Regions from separate parts of the Homo sapiens genome. Here region 1 is linked to region 2. Evidence: promoter capture Hi-C in 16 types of primary human blood cells and fetal thymus (Javierre and others, 2016). All regions are on one chromosome and are shown on one strand. The core of a region is centred on a gene start or on the middle of the fragment in contact, and the rest is flanking DNA. Distances in the headings are between cores, read along the strand shown.

Region 1 (7,401 bases), core at 1,037-3,536, 560 kb after region 2:
AACAGGAAATATTTAAGCTACAAACAATAAGAAAATCATAGTCATTTAAGTTATAAAAATAAATGATTTAGTACCATCAAACATGTTACCAGAAAAATAAGAAAACTAAGTTTCCAATAAACTACAAGGGCCGTTAATATTATTTACAAAATTATATTTGGATGTTTTATTACTTACAGAACAGAATGGAATCAAATACGCAACCATTAACCAAAGTAAATGTCGAAGCTTCAGAAAGTCATCTGGTAAATGTCCCAAATATATGATGTAAAACCTCAATGATTTAAATAAATACATTCAAAAATAATAAAAACAATGCATAAATCAATGAGTTAATGAACTCAAAATGACTTATGAATGTAATTTGTAATTTAAAAATCTCCAAATCCCCAAAAGGATTAGAAACTGGATAACAGAGTTAAGGGTACACACACACACACACACACACACACACACACACAAAGTAAAGTTGTTTATCTTACTTTTTGTATTTAAAAATGCAATCCTAAAACAAATTTTCTATAAATTAAGCTAAGTCAGAAGTCAGTAAGTATTCAGGTACTAAAATAAGGCTGCAGAAATTAATCATTTAAAAAGTAATTCTACTTTCTCATATGTACACAGGGCACTCTCTGCCCCTTCCCCCAAACTTCCACCACAAAATTAAAAAAAAGAAAAAAGAAAAAAACACACAAGTACACCAAAAAATGGCTCTTTTTATGATTTGAAATACAATGGTTCTATCTTGACAGTTCAACAGAATTTTGGCTCATTACTATTAGTGACCATTTCCTTTTATAATATTGCTTTTAAGGACTCACCATTACTTACGGTCTTTATTGCAATGGAGTTTTCTACTTGCAATTAAAGAAAACTACCTGCTGGGCTAAAATCTGTACAGAATTAAAGTTGTATGCTTATAATAGTAATAGTTAACATTTAAATTGTGCTTTACTATTTTCCTACACGACGTATTTTACATTATTTCATTCTCCTAATCTTTAAAATATTTCTAAGTGCTATTATTTACAGACTGGAAACAGGTACCTGGCCTCACAAATGCTAACTAGCAAAGTTGAGATTAACCCCAGGTAGCTTGATTTTCTTCAAACGAAAATCCTCTTCCATGAGTTTTGCATCTTAGTTCTTCATTTTCTTATTAGAGTCTGCAGACCCTATTTTTTCCTCATCACTTAATCTACTAACCATGTGAGAGTACAAGTGAAAATATTCTGCTTTAGCTAACATTGTTTCCAATTCATTTCCTTGTAATACAATTTAAAAAAAAAAACCCAAAAACTAAGTTACTGATCATCTATTTTCTAACTTTACAAGAATATCTTCCTTAGAAATACTGGACTCTCCTCATGCCAAATATAAATAGCCAATGAAATGGCACTTCATTACACCCTACTTCAAAAAGGCTGTTCAAAAGGACTGACTTTACACGAGGATTTCTCCAGTCTTACTTCTCTCTCTTCACATAAAACTATTACTTGAAATTTTAAATATTCGATCTCCTCATTCTAAAGCCCTTTTTCTTCAATCACACACCCTTTCTGTCTCACTATTAAAATCTATTTTCACTGAAGGTCCAGCGCCACCAGGGCTGCACTTGCTAATCCGTGCTGACTGCTGCGTTTCTGCGTGTGCGTGAGAATCTTCCAGAAGGTTTGAGTCACATAAGAGCGTCGGCCATCTTGGTTTTCATCTCCCGTGGAGATCTACTCGGTCCGCCTATTAAACTTGAGACGCTGGGGTCCCGCGGAGCCGCTGTGTCAGGCTCTAAAGAGGTTTTACATTTCCCAGAGGAAAGCGCTCTATGGGCTTTAAGCGCCGCGGAGACAAGCGCTTCCCGCCTGGGTGGCGCACTCTGCGGGCTCCAACTCCTCTCAACTACACAGCGTCCGGAAACGACGGCCGACTCCACATCCCTAAGACGGACAGAGGGGCAGCCGTGGGGAGGATTCGAAACCGGTACTTACCAACGCGAGGCGTTGCCTGAATTTTCCTCTGCGGGTTTCAGGAAGACCCTCCGTAGGTTATTTGACATTTTAGTGGGGAGAAAGGGGACACCTCATCCAGAAAAGTGGGAAGCGTGGGGCCGAGTTTCCCAATGGGGCGAGAACCAGAGCGAGGGAATGTTGGGCTGGAGTTGCCCACAGCAACTGTGAGGGGTTCGACCTTAACGGAGGGCGACAGCGGGCTCTCGAGAGGGTGTATCCCCAGGCTTCGGGACGAGGTCGCGCACCGCGCAGAAACCGGAAGGCTCCTGGCGGTGGACTGCGCCCTCACAGCCCTACGCTGAGAGAGAATCGGCGTGAGTCTCCGCCCTCAGAGCCTACGACAACTCTCCAGACTCCGCCGGAGCAGGCGCAGGGGGCGTGGCCTTGGTGGCACCACCCCCAACAGAGCCTGGTCAGTGCTGAAGACTGCGTCAGTCTGGCTCTGCCGCCCCGCCCACTGAAGCCGATAGCTGGAGCAAAGCTCGGTCGGGCGTCTTCCGGGGTCGTCACGTCCGGTTGCCAAGGTGACTGGCTCGCTAAAGCCCAACCCTTATGATGCAATCCAATGGCAAGTGATATTTGCTATCTTTTCTTCCGGATCAAGGAACAAATCGCAAAAGAAAGCTCTCCCGACACCTACGCAAAATAAAATGTTTCCGGGGTCAATCATAAATTTTCTGCTTCTGTGCTCGCCGCTAGCGTACGTTTTTCTCTCCCGTCAGTGCATTAAAAGACATCGGCGCGCTTTTTTGGAGTCATGCACTTCTGGCCTGAGAAAACTTAAAACGCCTGCCTGTGGCCAGCGATTATTGTTGCTGCTTCTCTGAAGGTTTCCCATTTACTCCTCTTTCCTGAAGCTTTGCCTCTAGACTTACTTAACTCTTTCCTCCAGCCTACGTTCATCGAAACTATCACTTATTGTCATATAGACCTTTATTTCTGAAGGGAGATCTGGGAGTTGCATCAGAACATCCATTGTATTCATTAAATCATTTATTCAGCTGTCCATTGCAGTTGATGCTCTTTATCTCACACTATTTGAGAATTTTTCCTCGCAGCACTATTAATTAGTCCCTCATCTTGACGCCATTGGCAATATACTTTCCTGGTTTTGCTCCTACCTTTTTGTCTACACCTTCTCAATCTCTTTTGAAGATATCTCCCTTTTCAAGGGAGTTCCTTTCAGCTTGATCACTGATTCTCTTATGTTTTCAAACTGTCTTGTCTCGATTCGTGGTTTTATTCATGCTCCTGGATTGAATTACCACCTCCACCCATTATTTTACCACCAAACACATGTATGTCCTTGGCACTGATTTAAGTGTTTTACAAAATTAATTTACTCCTAACAGCTAATAAAATAATTATTATATGCAGATGAAGTAACTGATGCTCAGAGAGGGTGAACAAATTTTTAGAGGTCATAGAGCTTGTGAGTGATGGAGCCAGGCTCCAAATCCAGGTTGTCTGGCTAAACACACCATGTACTACTGCATTATGCTGCCGTGTGACTCATAAATTTATGTTCCCAGTTCTGATTTCTCTGAGATCTATACCTGGATGTTCAAGTGAATTGTTGAGATATCCTTTTTGCTATTTTAAAAGCCCCTTCAAATGAAACATGTTCAAAACCACACTTATGACTTGCTTCTCTTCCCCCCACTACACGTTTTCTTTTATCAGTGCTATCTCAGAAAGAAAGAAAGAAATAACTTCCTTCCATTAAAGTTGCCTAAATCCCAGTGTCATCCTTAACACTTTCCTTTTTTTATTCCAAAATATACAATTCACCAACTTTTGCAGATTTTATCTTCTAAATATCTTACAAGTCTGCTTTATATTTCTATTACTACTACTGTAGAGCAAGCTTACTTGGTCTAGTAAAGCTTTAACGGATACCCTCATATCCACTCCTTTTTTATTTATTTATTTTTTTAGAGGGAGTCTCACTCTGTCACCCAGGCTGGAGTGCAGTGGGCAATCTCAGCTCACTGCAAGCTCCGCCTCCTGGGTTCACGCCATTCTCCTGCCTCAGCCTCCTGAGTAGCTGGGACTACAGGCGCCCGCCACCACACCCAGCTAATTTTTTGTATTTTAATTAGAGATGGGGTTTCACTGTGTTAGCCAGGATGGACTCGATCTCCTGACCTCCTGATCTCCCCGCCTCAGCCTCCCAAAGTGATGGGATTACAGGCGTGAGCCTCATATCCACTCTTGTATTCCTGTAAATGCTGCAGCCAGAGATACCATATGGAAACACAAATCTGATGGTGTCATCTCACTGCATTAAAAAAAAAAATCAGTTTCCCCATTGCTCTTATGATAAGGATCAAAATCCTTGATTCTTTTCCTTTTTTTCTTTTTCTTTTTTCTTTTCTTTTTTTCTTTTTCTTTTTTAGACAGGGTCTCACTCTGTCACCCCAGACTGGAGTACAGTGGCGTGATTTCAGCTCACTGCAATCTCCATCTCCTGGATTCAAGCGATTCTCGTGCCTCAGTCTCCCGAGTAGCTGGGATTACAGGTGCGCACTACCACGCCTGGCTCATTTTTTGTATTTTTAATAGAGACAGGGTTTCACCATGTTGGCTAGGCTGGTGTCTAACTCCTGACCGCAAATGATCTGTCTGCCTTGGCCTCCAAACGTGCTGGGATTACAGGCATGAGCTACTGTGCCCAGCCAAAATCCTTGATTCTAATCAAGATGTTGAACTAGTACAGACGGCTGACACCTGGAGAAATAAAAAAAAAAAAAGGAAGTTTAGATTTTTAGGAATTAACAGCAACAACCACCACACACACACACACACACACACACACACACACACACACACAAAAAGCAGCTGTGAAAATTTCGATCTGTAGGACATTTTCAGAACTGGTATGTGAGTGTATAGAGTGTTACAGGCTAAAGCCAAGGGCCACCACGAGAAGCAGAGGGTGGAGGCAACTATTTGAATTTTTCTCTTGTAACAGATATGATCATTAATTGTCCTTTGAAAATAAACCTGTAGCAATAGCCAAGCCCCTGGTATGGACAGGATAAAGTCAAGGCAGGAAAAACCCATGCTAAGGTAAGGCACTGATGAAAACAGATGCAGGATTACCTGCCAGTGTTGGGAAGTCACTACTCCATCCTTTCCGCAAAACCACCCTGGCTGGTATATTATAAATAGGTAACTTGACTTTTATCAGTGTGGTCTTGCACTACAATTTAAATATAACTCTTACCATGGAAATTGCCTTTTGGAGTGGAAGCTAATTGGTATGATCAGCAGTGCTTCTTTGAATTCCTTAGGACATACACTTTTCTTCTAAATTCATTGGGAAATGCAGACTGAGGCTTAAATATCTTTTTGTTGTTGTTGTTGTTGAGACAGAGTCTCGCTCTGTTGCCCAGGCTGGAGTGCAGTGGCACGATCTTGGTTCACTGCAACCTCCGCCTTTCAGGTTCAAGTGATTCTCCTGCCTCAGCCTCCTGAGTAGCTGGGACTACAGGCACGCATCACCTTGCAATTCAGTTAATAAAGACTAGTTTAAAGACATATTTAGAAATGAAATGACTGTTACTAAATTAGCATTACAAAAACAGATCAAAAATGTTAAATGTACAATCAAGTTACATGGAAAATTAAAGTAATAGAAAACTACAGTAGACCCTGCTTATTCAGTTTTACCTTCTGTAGTTTCAGTTACCCATGGTCAACCATGGTTCAAAAATATTACATGGAAAATTGCAGAAATTACCAATTCACAAGTATGAAATTGTGTGCCATTCTGGGTAGCATGATGAAATCTTGAGCTGTCCTTTTTTGCCCCACCAGGGTGTGAATCATCCCTTTCTCTAGCATATCCCCACCTGTTAGTCACTTAGGCGCCATCTTGGTTTTCAGATCCACTGTCATGGTATCACAATGTTTATGTTCAAGTAACCCTTATTTACTTAAAAATGGCCCAAAGTACAGGAGTAGTGATGCTAGCATGTTGTTCTATTTTTATTATTAGTTGTGATTAATCTCTTACTATGCTTAACTTATAAATTAAACTTTATTATAGGTATGTATGTATAAGAAAAAAAAATGTAGCCCGTATCCAGTCTGGTACTATTCATGGTTTTAAGCATTCACTGGGAGTATTGAAACATATCTCCCACAGATATACTACAGTATATCAGTGAAAATCAGAAAAAAATGAACATATTTGGGGGATGAGAGTGAAGCCAAATATGAACTAAAATAAACACACTAGATGAGATAAATAGTTGAATGCATGCAGCTGAATAAAGAATTAGGAGACTGATAGAAGAGAGTAAAGAAAATGTTGGAGGGCAGTAGGAAAGGATAAAAAGAGAGCAAATATAAAAATAAAAGTTAAAATTTGTCTAATAGAAAAGTAGAAGTTTCAATATCTGGAAAATAGGATTGCAGAAGGACAGAAATTAAAACAAATATTTTTTAAATCTAAAAACTATTTTTCCAGAATTAAAGAAAATAGAAAGATGTCAGTTAAAGCATGTCCTAAGGTATCAAGTGAGAGAAATAAGAAAAAAAAAACATGCCTTAAGAAATTAAAACTAGAATATCAAAAAGAAAAAAAAATAAAGCCCTCAGGGAGGAAAAATGTATTATTTTCTGCATACCAAATAACCATATATTTCTGCATAACAAATAACCATAAATTTAGCAGCTAAAAATAACAAATGTCAGTTAGGAGTCTAGGCACAGCTTAGTCAGGTCCTCTGCTATAGAGTCATTTACAGGGCTGCAATCAAGGTGTTGATCAGGGCTACTGTCTCATCTGAAGGCTCAACTAGAGAAAAAGCCAATTTCAAGCTCTTTTGTTGTTGGAGGGATTCAGTTCTTTGCAGCAGCTGGATTGAGGGCCTGTGTTTCTTGCTGGTTGTTGGCCAAAGGCTGCTGCCCTCAGTTCCTTGTCATGAGGGTTGCCAAAGATAAACCCAACTGGACATTAGTTAAAACATTGAAACAGATTTTATTCAGTAACTACTGATAGTAAGAGAAACAACTGAGTTCCACTTTTATTTGTGCAGAGGTGATTGGGTGTTTTAAAGGGAAAATGAGGGACCCATGAGCAGAGGCTCAAGAAAAGTCAGAGAAGTAAAAAATTACAAAAGATTGATCTACATAAATGCATCTAGGCCAGCTGTGTCTGCTCTCTGGCAGTTATTGAAGTTAGGACTCTATTTGCTTAGAAACTGAGAGACAGGGGTCTTATCCTTCCTGATGATTACATTTCAAAGGAATGTCCTTCAGTTTCTTCAGAAGGACACTTCTGAGTTGTAGGAGATACATATACATTTCAAAGGGAAATGAAAAGGACACATAATTATAAGCCCTTTTTAGTAAATGTTCTAAGAAAGAACTTATCATCAGGTGT
Region 2 (6,816 bases), core at 4,191-6,690:
TTTTTTCTTTTTTTTGAGACGGAGTCTTGCTCTGTTGCCCAGGCTGGAGGGCAGTGGCGTGATCTCAGCTCACTGCAACCTCTGCCTCCCGGGTTCAAGCAATTCTCCTGCCTCAGCCTCCTGAGTAGCTAGGATTACAGGTGCCTGCCACCATGCCTAATTTTTGTATTTTTAGTAGAGACAGGGTTTCACCATGTTGGTTAGGCTGTCTCACACTCCTTACCTCAAGTGATCTGCCCGCCTTGGCCTCCCAAAGTGCTGGGATTACAAGTGTGAGCCACCATGCCGGGCCTACTTTTTATCATTATTTTAGAGTATACTACTCCTACTTATTAAGACAAGGTTAACTATAAAACAGCCTCAGACAGGTCCTTTAGGAGGTATTCCAGAAGGTATCATCATTACAGGAGATGACAACTCCATGCATGTTACTGCCCTGGATGACCTTCCAGTGGGAGAAGATGTGGAGATAGAAGCCAGTGATATTGATGATCCTGACCCTGTGCAGGCCTAGGCTAATGTGTGTTTCTTCTTTGCTTTTAACAAAAAAGTCTAAAAAGTAAAAAAGTTTAAAAAAAGAATTTTTGTACAGCTGTACAACTGTTTTAAGTGTTATTATAAAGTCAAAAAGTTTTATTGACTCACTCAGAGCAACTTCCAGTGTTGTAAGCTCCATTATGGTAAGTGCCCTATTCAGATATACCTTTTAAAAAATTTCCCTATACCATACTTTTACTGTATCTTCTCTACGTTTAGATACATAAATACCACTGTTATAACTGCCTACATTATTTAGGCTACAAATCTTTGTAGTCTAAGAGCAATACAGCCTAGGTGTGTAATAGGGTGTACCACCTAGGTTTAAGTACACTCTATGATGTTCATACAACAAAACTGCCTGACACATTTCTCAGAACATATCCCCATTGTTAAGCAATGCATGACTGTATGTTTTTTCTTTTTACAAGGCTGTGATAGTAGCAGTTGTATATATATACTTTTTTTCACATATTATTCTGAGGACCATCACTTGGAATATCTTTAGTAATTTTATTGCTTTAGAAGTAATTTTTGGCTGGGTGCAGTGACTCATTCCTGTAATCCCAGCACTTTGGGAGGCTGAGGCGGGCAAATTACTGGAGCCCAGGAGTTCGAGACCAGCCTGGGAAACATGGTGAAACCTCATCTCTACAAAAAAATACAAAAATTAGCTGGGTGTGGTAGTGTACACCTGTAGTCTCAGCTACAACTCGGGAGGCTGAGTTGGGTGAATCGCTTGAGCCCGGTGGGGTTGAAGTCACAGTGACCCATGATCACACCACTGTACTCCAGCCTGGTGCCAGAGCAACACCCTGCCTCAAAAAGAAAAAAAAAAAAAGTAATTTTTATTCTCTGATTAGTTTTCCTTTGTGCTATTTGTTACTTTCTTTTTGTTGGTAAACTGATAGCTTCTGCCAATTCTTATTCTTCATTTAAATAGCATTGTGGCCTGAGAGCACATTAGCTTTAGGGATCAACTTGTCTGTTCCTGTGATTCAAAAGATTAAGAACTTTTCCCAAAGTAGTCTGAATAAGGAATCACTGATGAACACAGGGCCGGCCCCCGCCAATTTTACCAGGAATTTTTCTGAACAAAAAGGAAAGGATCTGCTGAAATCTACTCACCCATTATCTGATTCTAGACACACCACAGGAATATCAGTGGGGTCAGAGGTTAGCTTAGCTGCTTGCTGGGCTAGAACAGATATCACTCCAGCATGCTCATCTGACAGGGTCCCGCGGCCTGGAAAATAGAGATGATATATGTCACCTGATTGCTCATAGAGTATTTCTGCTAAAATAAGCTAGCTGGCTGTTTTAAAATGTCTACAGAATTGTCTTTTTATTAATGTCTGTATTAGTCTGTATATATTATAGTAACTAAATCTCGGGTACAAAAGTACCTATAAATTCTAGGTACGAAAATTAATTACTAAGTGTACTTTACAATATATTTCTGTATATAAAGGCAACACAAAGTTAACTGTACCTGAAACCAAATCAGGTAATAGACATGCCACTATGGCAGAGCATTTGGATGTACTATTACTATACAAAACATTTTGACCAGATCCGATGCCGACGTTTGAGCCTTGAAGGTTTCTTGAAGGAACTCATTTAGTTTTAGATTTCCATACCTGAATTTCAGTCTTTCCATTAGTAAGCCTAGCAAATGCTTCCAAAAATTTACCCTTTTTCTCCCAAATGACTGATCTGCATGTTAAACATAACTGAGTTACACCGATTACCTCTTTCAGTTACCCTTCCAGCAAAAATTCAGAGCTTTAAACATTCCTGCATTAGGAGCAACAAGTCTTGGGTTTACTAGTTGTCACTAATTAACTGAATGCTTTACTTATTTACCTTTCCAAACTTATTTCCTCATGTGTAATTGCTACCATTTATTAAGTATTATGTCTCAGTTCTATGTAAGCATTTTATACATATTATATAACCTTAAAATATCGTGATTAGGCCGGGTGTAGTGGCTCATTCCTGTAATCCCGCACTTTGGGAGGCGGAGGTGGGTGGATCACCTGAGATAAGGAGTTCGAGACCAGCCTGGCCAACATAGTGAAACCCTGTATCTACTAAAAATACAAAAATTATCTGGGCGTGGTGGCAGGCGCCTGTAATCCCAGCTACTCAGGAGGCTGAGGCAGGAGAATTGCCTGAACCTGGGAAATGGAGGTTGCAGTGAGCCAAGATCGTGCCACTGCACTCTAGCCTGGGCGACAGAGCAAGATTTCGTCTCAAAAAAAAAAAAAAAAAAGTGATTAAGAGGCCTCAGGGCCAGACAAAAATCCTAGCTTAACGACTTACTAGCTGCATGACCTCAGGCAAGTTATTTAACCTCTGTGTCTCAGTTTCTTTTTTTATTTTTTGAGACAGAGTCTCGCTCTTGTCATCCAGGCTGGAGTGCAATGGTGCAATCTCGGCTTACTGCAACCTCTGCCTCCCAGGTTCAAGCGATTCTCCTGCCTCAGCCTCCCGAGTAGCTGGGATTACTAGCACCTGCTACCATGCCTGGCTAATTTTTTTTTGCATTTTTAGTAGAGATGTGGTTTCACCATGTTGGCCAGGCTAGTCTCGAACTCCTGACCTCAGGTGATCCACCCGCCTCCGCCTCCCAAAGTGCTGGGATCACAGGTGTGAGCCACCGCATCCGGCCTCTTTTTTTAAATTTTAAAAACATATATATATGTTTATTGTAAAAATAGAGATGGGGGGTCTCACTGTGTTGCACAGGCTGGTCTTGAACTCCTGGGCTCAAGTGATCTGCCCACCTTGGTCTCCCAAAGTGCTGGGATTACAGGCGTGAGACACTGCACCTGGTCCCTCAATTTCTTTTTCTACCTCACTGGGTTGTTATGAGGAATAAAAGAGTATATGTAAAGCACTTACAATGGTGCTTGGCACATAACAGCTCAATAAATATAATTCTATGATTATTACCATTATCAAATAACAACCCAGTGAAGAAAATGAGGGCCTAAAAGGTAGTTTTTTGGTCCACGTTCACACTACTAACAAATGAAAGAGCAAGGGATTGAGACCAGGTATGTCCAACACTGAAATCCCATTTTACTGCCTATTCACTTCTTGTTTAGTGTAGTTGAGCTTCAAAATTGTACACCACCCACCTTGCCGGGTTGTTGTGAAAATTAAAGATAATGTATTTAGAGCCTAGCAGTCTCAGCATATGGCATACATTCAATAAATGGTTAACAGCTGTTATTATCTGAAGTCCTTTCTAGACTCAATTTAAAATGATTCAAATATTATTTTTAGTAGAGACAACTATTTATTGTTATAGGACTGCAAGGAACATCTTCCTTCATAAATACCAACTGAAAAGTTTCAATTTTCTGATACTGTTATTTGGAGATAATCTCTACTCTCAAACTCAGAAAGACCTGGCAAGGTAACAGGAAATAAAAGCTAGAAAATAATAGCACGCTAGGCTCCAAGTCAACATCAGATGCTATGCAATTCATCAAATAGTTGGTATGAGAGATACTTACAACCCAGATTAAGTCCTTGTGAATCTGTGCACAGGACTCCAACAATGGAGGGATTCTTCATTCTAATTCCAGGAACACAAGAGAGTTGAAGTACATAATGGGAGAAAAAGGATTTAAATAAGTACAAACATACAGGTGTTCTATGTACCAGGCATTAAGTGCTTTAAATCAATATTTCTCAATCTTTTTTCATTGTCACACCCTAAGAAAAAAATTAAGTTCTAGGGCCGGGCGCGGTTGCTCACGCCTGTAATCCCAGCACTTTGGGAGGCCCAGGTGGGCGGATCACCTGAGGTCGGGAGTTCAAGACCAGCCTGACCAACATGGAGAAACCCCGTCTCTACTAAAAATACAAAATTAGCCAGGCGTGGTGGCGCATGACTGTAATCCCAGCTACTCGGGAGGCTGAGGCAAGAGAATCGCTTGAACCTGGGAGGCGGAGGTTGCAGTGAGCCGAGATCACGCCATTGCACTCCAGCCTGGAAGACGAGCGAAATTCCGTCTCAAAAAAAGAACACAAAAAATTTAAGTTCTAGTTAATTAATTGAAATAAACCAGTTTCTCTCTGATGAGAGAAAAAAATGTGCTAAGTACTGCTGAGTTCTGGAGGGCCACAAACACTGCGTGAAAAACATCTAGGATGTTTTCACTCTTGTTAAAAACGCATGTTTTAGTACTAACTCATTTAAAACAACTGTTGAAAAACTCAAGTTACCTCCTGGAGGGTAAGTGGAAGCTGAGGGACATCGGTGGGAGGCAGGTGTCTCTCTGTACCCTTTACACTTTTCCAGTTTTGAATTTTACATAGATACTGCTTGTTCGAAAAATTTAAAGAATGATTTTTATCTACTTAAGCACCAAGTAACTGATAGGTTACACACAGGAGATACGTGTTTGTTTACACTGCAGGGCTCGACACTGCACAACTGGCACAATCTTCCCAAAAGTCAACCCGTTTTCTAAAACTTCCGCAGAACCACCCTGACCGTAAAGACGATTTCAACAACGAGATAGGCAGTTTTGGCCCGTGGCCTGGGCCCGGGAGACTCGCTCAAGAGGGAATGTGCGGTGCCCGGCAGGATTTTAATTCCGGGTCACCCGCCCCGCCCTGCGGCCTTGGGTAGAGTTTAGCCCCCTCATCCCGTGTCCCGGGGGTCGCGCGACGTCCCCGAGACGCCCTGGCCGGTACTCGCAGCTCGCGCCTTTCGTTCCGCTCAAGTTCCTCCGCCGCGACCTCAGGACAGGCCGAAGAGGCGCGCACTACTCACGTGTCTTCCAAGTGCTGCTCCAAGGTCGCCTCCATCCCACCCACCGACCACTCCGGCTCAGAACCCAGCGGCACGGCACGTCCTTCTCCACCACAGGCCTCAGTCACTTGACGCGAGCGGGGCGTGGACCGTAACGGCGCCTCCAAAGGGACAAAATTGATCACGGTGCAACGTCCGCGTTCTTTACTGGAAAACATCACTGCGCTTCCGTCGCACAGAGCCTGACGAAGGCTTGGGCTCCCCGCGCGGTGACCGTCGAGGTGACCTGCACCTGGCTCCATGGCGGAACCGGCCGGCACGGATTATTCCCCTCTCGGGAGAGGTCTGCAGCCGGGCCTCAGTGCTTCAGTTCGTGGCCTGGCATTTTGTGTCAGTGTTTTTTAACCTTTGGACCCTAGTTCAACCGACTCCGAGACCTAGGGGACAGATCTTAAGTTTTACAATAACCCAGGGGTCAGACAGGGTCTGATCTAGCCTGTGGGGCAAGTACGGGGAAGACACGGGACCTCTTGGAGGGGGTCAGTAGGCTTGTAGGGGGAAAGACGCACACAGAGACTAAAGGACGAGATGGAGCAAGGTTCAACCCCCTAGCTGAGTGTTGGCAGTGTCGGGATTTTAACGAAGACATTGGTGCTTATTATGGTGAGGGGACTCAGGACAGTTTAGGGGAAGAGAGTGGCATTTGAGTCCTAACTCGTAAGGAAGACTGGGTAGGACTACTTGAAAATAACTTTTAAAAATTAATTATAAAGCTGGTAAAAATAGGAAAACATCTATGGCCCCACTGTCCAAAGACGACTTTTAACTTCTTGGAGAATATCCTTTCAGATAGTTGTCTTTGTAAATGTATACTTTTAATGTTTTTTCGTTTGCCTTTTTAAAATAAATTTTTTGGGGGACAGGGTCTTGCTCTGTTACCCAGGCTGTAGTGCAGTAGAACGATTATAGCTCATTGCAACCCGGACGTCCTGGGTTCAAGCTATCCTCACCTCTCAGCCTCTCGACTGGCTAGGACCACAGCCTCGAGCCATCATGTCTGGCTAATTTTTACGTTTTTTTGTAGAGATGGGGGTCTCGCTGTGTTGTCCAGGCTGGTCTTAAACTCCTTGCTTCAACAGATCCTCCCACTCCAGCCTCCCAAAATGTGATTACAGGCTGAGTCACCACGCCTAGCATGGTTTTTTTTGTTTTGTTTGTTTTGTAAGCAAAATTGACATACATACTGGAGGTACAATTCTGTAGCTGGCCTTCTTTACAGAGTTTAGAATAAATGTCTTTCCATGTCAAGTTTTCACTTACATCCTTTGTAGTAGTTGCAAAATATTCCATTTTATAGCTGTATCTTAATTGTGGATTAAGGTTGGAGTGCAGTGGCACTATCATGGCTTAGTCCAGCCTCAGCCTTCTAGGTTCAAGCGATCTTCCCACCTCAGCCTCCCAAGAAGCTGGGACTACAGGGACCCGCCACCCCACCTAGCTAATTA

Evidence for each region. Contacts are between HindIII fragments. The CHiCAGO score rates a contact against its expected background, and 5 or more counts as called.
Region 1: the fragment with the promoter of LRIF1 here is called in contact with the fragment with the promoter of LAMTOR5 in region 2 in 1 of 17 cell types (total CD8 T cells); the score reaches 5.7 in total CD8 T cells.

Annotation. Positions count from the first base shown.
Region 1 is chr1:110,961,636-110,969,036 of GRCh38, forward strand. LRIF1 (ligand dependent nuclear receptor interacting factor 1) reads right to left here and starts at 2,287. Exons shown (of 4, transcript NM_018372.4): 1 at 1,986-2,287. The coding sequence starts at 2,053. RefSeq lists enhancers at 1,875-2,411, 1,946-2,155. The HindIII fragment of the contact is 2,635 bases long and covers 227-2,861 here.
Region 2 is chr1:110,402,254-110,409,069 of GRCh38, forward strand. It overlaps LAMTOR5 (late endosomal/lysosomal adaptor, MAPK and MTOR activator 5), which reads right to left and starts at 5,441. Exons shown (of 4, transcript NM_001382293.1): 1 at 5,333-5,441; 2 at 4,065-4,126; 3 at 1,666-1,783. The coding sequence starts at 5,367. It overlaps LAMTOR5-AS1 (LAMTOR5 and SLC16A4 antisense RNA 1), which reads left to right and starts at 5,556. Exons shown (of 3, transcript NR_102697.1): 1 at 5,556-5,701. RefSeq lists an enhancer at 5,383-5,612. The HindIII fragment of the contact is 8,453 bases long and covers 1-6,816 here.